Linked DNA regions of Homo sapiens: region 2 is linked to region 1. Evidence: promoter capture Hi-C in human tissues and cell types (Jung and others, 2019). All regions are on one chromosome and are shown on one strand. The core of a region is centred on a gene start or on the middle of the fragment in contact, and the rest is flanking DNA. Distances in the headings are between cores, read along the strand shown. Region 1 holds the start of CST3 (cystatin C). Region 2 has its middle 110 kb from the start of LINC01427.

Region 1 (3,168 bases), core at 458-2,957:
TGGGGCTGTTTCCTGTCTAGGCAGGGCTTCTCACCTTTCCAGTCTCATAGAGTCCTCCCTGACCAGGTCCAGTGGCATCATCTCTCTCTATCCCATACTCTCACTTCCAACAGAGAGACTAATTTCCTGATATTAATTATTGATCACTATTCGCCATCCTCCCACACACCCTAATGCTGGGCTGTGCAGTGCCACAGCCACCAGCCACATGTGGCCACAGGGTGCTTGAAATGGGGCCAGTACAATTGACACCCACATACACAGGGAATTTCAAAGACTCAGTACACACACCCAAAATAAAATAACCTATGTTATTAATGATTCTTCTTATGTGTTGAAATAATATTTTGGATATATTAGGTTAAGTAAGAAATATTATAAACATTACCTTCACCTGTTTCTTTTTTACTTTTTGAAATGTGTCTCCCAGAAAGTTTTAAATTGCTCCTGGGTTCGTGTCACATTTCTGTCTGGCAGCAGCCCTGCAATGTAGTGTCCATGGCTCGGTCACCCAGGCTCCGTCTCTAGCTCCTAGACTACCTGGTGCAGGGGGAAGCTGGTGAAAAGTCTGTTTACTGAATAATGAGTTGTGAAAGGAGAACCCAGAGTTTTTTACTCAAATAAAGGTTAATTCTTCTGTTTGAAAAGTTCCCTAGCACAGGGCATGGCCTGAGTCTCCTGTGGCCTCTGGAATCACACCTCTGCCTTAGTGATTTCTAGACCTTGACCAAATGCTCACGGATACTCAGGACCTCTGAAGACTCCGGAAGGCCGAGACCTCTATCTTTCCCTTTTCTGAGGAAATGAAGCTAGGGGGTCGTATGCTTTTAGGGCCCAGGGGGCCTTGACACCTCTCTGGAGGGCAGGGTGACCTAAGCTTGGGAGGAGGGACAGGTCTTTGGGAAGAGATGGAGCTGAGGGGGTGGAGTGGGTAGAAGGGGGGCATAGGTGTGGAAGGGGTGGGGGAAGAGGGGCCAGGAGTGGGGTGAGAAGAGGGGAAAGAAGAGGATAGGAGGGACAGGGACAGGGAGAGGCCAGGAATGGGTAGGAAGGGAAGACAGAGGAGGGGCGGGACGAGGGAGGGGCGATGAAGAGGGGCCGAGCTGGGGTGGGGGCGAAGTGGGAGCAAGGACAGGAGTGGAGGAGGGAGATGAGGGGCATGGGAGGCGGTGTCTGGGGGTTGAAAGGGGAAAGGGACAGAGGAGAAGGAGCCTGAAGAGTGGCGGCATGGAGGGGCCCGAAGTGGGGAGGTGGGAATGGTCGGATGGATGGGGAGGAATGGGGAGGATAGGAGAGGCAGGGGAGGCTGGAAGACAGTAGGAGAGGAGGGGGAGGGGAGGGGAGGGGATGGATGGGAATGGATAGGGAAGGCCAGGGAGACTGGGGGGCCAGGGGAGGAGGGGAGGGAGAGGGGAGGCGGGAAGGGAGAGGAGAGGCCGGGAGGGGCTGGGAGGGGAGGGAAGGGGATGGATGGGGAAGGACAGGGAAGCCTGGAGGGGCAGGGGAGGCTGGGATGGGAGGAGACTGATAGGGAGGGACCTGGAGGCGGGGAGAGGCAGGGGAGGCGGGGAGAGGCAGGGGAGGCGGGGAGGGAGAAGGGAGGTGGGAGGGACGAGGCGTTCCGGAAAAGGGAGTGCAGGCCGCGGTGGGGTGGGGCGGCGAAGGCCGGAAGGGATAAAACCGCAGTCGCCGGCCTCGCGGGGCTCACGGCCTCGCCTCGGTATCGCAGCGGGTCCTCTCTATCTAGCTCCAGCCTCTCGCCTGCGCCCCACTCCCCGCGTCCCGCGTCCTAGCCGACCATGGCCGGGCCCCTGCGCGCCCCGCTGCTCCTGCTGGCCATCCTGGCCGTGGCCCTGGCCGTGAGCCCCGCGGCCGGCTCCAGTCCCGGCAAGCCGCCGCGCCTAGTGGGAGGCCCCATGGACGCCAGCGTGGAGGAGGAGGGTGTGCGGCGTGCACTGGACTTTGCCGTCGGCGAGTACAACAAAGCCAGCAACGACATGTACCACAGCCGCGCGCTGCAGGTGGTGCGCGCCCGCAAGCAGGTGCGTGCCGCCCCCCGCAGGGTCCGAAGCCCCGGCCCCGCCGTCCCAGCCTCCCCCCGCGCTGCTCCCGGACCCCGTGCTGCTCCTCTCCGGCGCCTGGGCTTCTCACCCGGACCCTGTTCCCGGTCTTCGCTGTCACCCCCGAGCCCTTGGCGGGCGTGTCCGGGAATGCCCTGAGTCTGGCCTGGCCTGGAACCGCACGGACACGTCAGGTCCGCGCCCGGCGCCTAAGATCAGCTTCCAGGAGCCAGCTCGAGCTGCGCCGCAGCGCGGGGGCAGGCACAGGACGTCCCACACAGCTCTGTCCCGACCTCCTGGGACGCTGGGCTCCGGGTGCGCTGCTGAATACGCAGGAGAAGGAAAAACAGAGCCCCTCATCTGGCTGCCTCCTTGTTCTTCCACCAAATAATTTTTAAGCACTTTTGTTTCTTTTAACTTTTTATTCTCCCGTAATTTCAGACTTACAGAGCAGCTGCAAAATAGCACAGGGCATCCCTGTAGATCTTTCACCCAGATCCCTCAGATGTTAGCACAGATGTTAACATTTTGCCCTGTTTGTTCCCCCCAGCTCACTTTCCGAATGTGAATATGGGTGTGTGTATATGTACTGTATATGCATTTTTTGCCTGAATCTTTTGAAAGTAAACACTTCAGTGTGTTTTTCCTAAAAACAAGGGCAATATCGCACATAATCACTATTCCATTTTGAAAATCAGCACTGACACATTCATGATCTAATGCTCAGACTCATTCAGCTTTCCCTGTCTGTTGACGGCCTTCGTGCCCTAGGACGCTCCTGGGCCATGAGTGCATGAGTTCAGCCCTGTCCTGTCCCCTCGGCCTCTTTTAACCTGCAGCAGCAGCTGGGTCTGTGCCACGACCGTGCCATTTCCCAGGGTCTAGCAGGTGTGGATGGAGACTATGCTGACTCTGGGTGGGCTTGATGCTGCTCAAGATGAGATCTAGGCCATGCGGCTCATCCTCCTCCCAGAATACTCTCCGCAGGGGCCACACGTGAGCCTGGCACCTTGTCCTGCAGAGCCCTGCTTCCCTCCCCAAGTCACACCCCTGGGCACAGTCCCCTAGGACTAGCGGCCTTCACCCTCAGGCCGGCTGACCACCCCCT
Region 2 (2,921 bases), core at 74-2,573, 1.2 Mb after region 1:
ATCATCAAAGGTTGTACCTTTAATCACTGTGTTATTCTGCTTTCTTGTTCCGAATATTCTTAAAATATTTAAAAACTTGTCAATAAAGAAAAGCTTCAAGAAGGCAGCAAGTTCAGTTTCTGAACTCTGTAAAGAAGAGATACACTTTCAGAAAGAGTTCCCAGTTGTTGAAGATGTTGGTGCAGGAGCCAAAAGACCATTTGTCGGAAATGTGGATGATCTAAAGTATTATAATTAAATGGCATATATGTGTTCTGTCAACCTGGTTATTCTGATGTGGGATCCTACTAACAGAACCAGAACCCCCGCATATGGCCATGAAGGTTGGATATTGCATGACTCCAGGGGAGGGATGCTTCATATTCAGAGGCATTGTGGATTTTCATATAGATCATGACAGTTTTCCTGAAGATTTTAGTCAAGAGTGCGAAGGGAGAGCTGCACTCTATTTCTTATATGCTCCAAGTTTCCATTTGGACCCTTAAAGGCGCTAACCATATCTGACATAGAAATATAATTTTAAAGGAAAGGGATGGATAGGCATAAGGCCAGAGATAGGAATATGAGTTAGAGGGTAATGGTGATGACTTCAGCAATAGGTAAGGAATGAGGGTGTGGATAAGAATAGAGAATTGATGAGGATCAGGAAGCTATTTCATATTTGTATTAGTCCAGGAGAGAGATGAGCTGGAAACACAAATTTAGGAGTCGTGAATATGAGAAGATAGTTGAAGGTTAAGGGAACTGGTAAGTCTACATGAGAAAGACCAAGGAACAAGAAAAGACAAGCATTGAAAGCTTGATCACTGTGCAAATCTAAGTCACTGGTCAGGAAACAGAACGTTTTCTGCAGGTAGAAGGTGATTGACAGAGAGAGTGTTTCAGACAGTGGGATGATGGAGAAGTTGATGGACCTCACAACTTGGATTGCTGTCAACCTTTACCAGACCACTTTCAGTAGATTGTTGATGGAGAATGGTACAGAAGTCCAACTGACAAATTGTGGAACAATAGCTGCTCAGAAAGTAGAAATAGTGAGTGCAGAAGGGTGGTGTTGGAGGAGAAACCCAGGGAGCTGTAATTTGAGGTGAAAGGAAGTCACGGGAAGTTTTTTTCATGGGAGCATTGGGAAGACCTGTTGACACAATAAATAATAAATCCTTTGTCAACAAAAGCCATATCTTACACATCACTGTAATATCTAAGGTAAATTTGGTGCTGAATGATCATGTCCCATAATTCCTATACTGGCACATAATAGAACAAGACATTTATTTGTGGGAGGAAATCTAAATGTTTTGCTGTTGAATCGCTTGGGAAGATGGCTCTTCTCTTGCAGTATTGAGAACCTGCACTTGATGTTTTAACAAGGTGTGAGAACACTAAAAAGGAGGGAACAAAGCTTGTAAGCAACTCATAAGGCATGATTCCAGGATCCAGCCTCAGTTTCAGTGAGTCCCACTTCTACATTTCTCTCAAATGCACCATGTGACAGAGAAACTTGGGAGAGTCTTGATTTGGAGGGTGCAGAGTGACTGGGAGACTCAGAGGCCAAGAAACTCTGAAGCCACTACTTGCACTTTAAATTCTTCCTTCTGCTGTTTCTGAACCAGCCGGGAAGCTGTGGCTGAAACTCTGATCATGTATCAAAGCTCTTAAACTGGCCTGGGGCAATTGGTTAAAAAAAGAAAAGGAAAAAAAAAAAGCAGCTGGAACCATTTTGCCATCCCATTGTATCATTATTATTAAACTCTTAGGAGAAAGGATTTTGCAAAATAAAAAGCATGACATATTATAACTTATGGGGAAAAGCATGACAATATAGCATGACATGTTGAAAGAGCATGGCATGTTTTAAAACGTATGATGTGGTAAAGCATGACACCTTCTAACTTCCTTATTACTTTCTGATTTCCAAAGTCTTACTGTTTATTAAAGTAAACAATAGTGAGATGATGGATGATTTCCATCATCTTCATTATAATATTCAACACTTAAAGGTAATATTTGTTTTTATCCTTATGTCTGTTCTGTGTTTTCTTTACATATACACATAAGCTATTATTATTTGTATAATTAAGTTCAGCACTCAATGTGTTGGCTAAATGAACGACAGCATGTACTTTTTGATAATTTTTCTCTTAGAAATACACTGTCAGTTGTTTCCATAGTTCAGTGTGTTTGTCTACTGCTTGATTTGTGTCATCTTCATATTATTCCAATCCTGTACACATATTTCATGATTGGTTTGGACATTTTGGCTGCTGGATACTTAGATTGCCCTATCCTTTTTTTTCAGTTACATATGATGCTGTAGTGAATATCGTCTCCTCAAACCCTTGGTATTATCCCTAGGAGAATCTGATATCCTAACATATATCCTACTTCATACAGAATAAATTTTAAGGCTTTTATATTTATTGTCAAATTGTGGATTAGAATGGTTAGTCCAATTTATATTTCCATAAGCTGGCATGAATGTTCATTTTCCTACATTTTTATTAAGTGCTGGGCATATTCATTAAAAATAAAAATGTTGGCCAGTTTTATAAGATAAATGTGGAATATTGTGTGTATATATATCATATGATAAATGTGTTGGAATTATTGAAATTTTCATTTGATCACAAGGTTTTAAAATTATTTCATATATTTGCCATCCATTTTACCATCTATTATTTCTAGCTCTTCTTCAGTGAGTTGCCTGTTTATATCTTTTGCCAGGTTTTCTATTGATCTATTGATGTATTTACCTTTTTTATTATTTATAAAATATCCTTATATAGTAAAGATATTAGTCTTTTCTCTGTCATGTATATTGTGATGTGTGTGTGTGCATGTATTTTGAAATGTTATATTTTATGTAATCATATATAGTGCTTATTTATTTGGTGAGATCTTTCTTTGCTCTTATGCTTACA

Evidence for each region. The method cuts DNA at HindIII sites, captures the fragments that hold promoters and counts their contacts. A contact is called where the count stands out against the background at its distance.
Region 2: a contact is called between a fragment that was not itself captured here and the fragment with the promoter of CST3 in region 1, in 1 of the 25 tissues and cell types used here (dorsolateral prefrontal cortex).

What each region holds. Positions count from the first base shown.
Region 1 is chr20:23,636,494-23,639,661 of GRCh38, reverse strand. CST3 (cystatin C) reads left to right here and starts at 1,707. Exons shown (of 3, transcript NM_000099.4): 1 at 1,707-2,042. The coding sequence starts at 1,800. RefSeq lists silencers at 1,553-1,892, 1,923-2,172. The HindIII fragment of the contact is 14,575 bases long and covers 1-3,168 here.
Region 2 is chr20:22,396,213-22,399,133 of GRCh38, reverse strand. No RefSeq gene overlaps it. Among named protein-coding and RNA genes, the nearest start is that of LINC01427, 110 kb to the right of the region's middle. The HindIII fragment of the contact is 3,047 bases long and covers 1-2,846 here.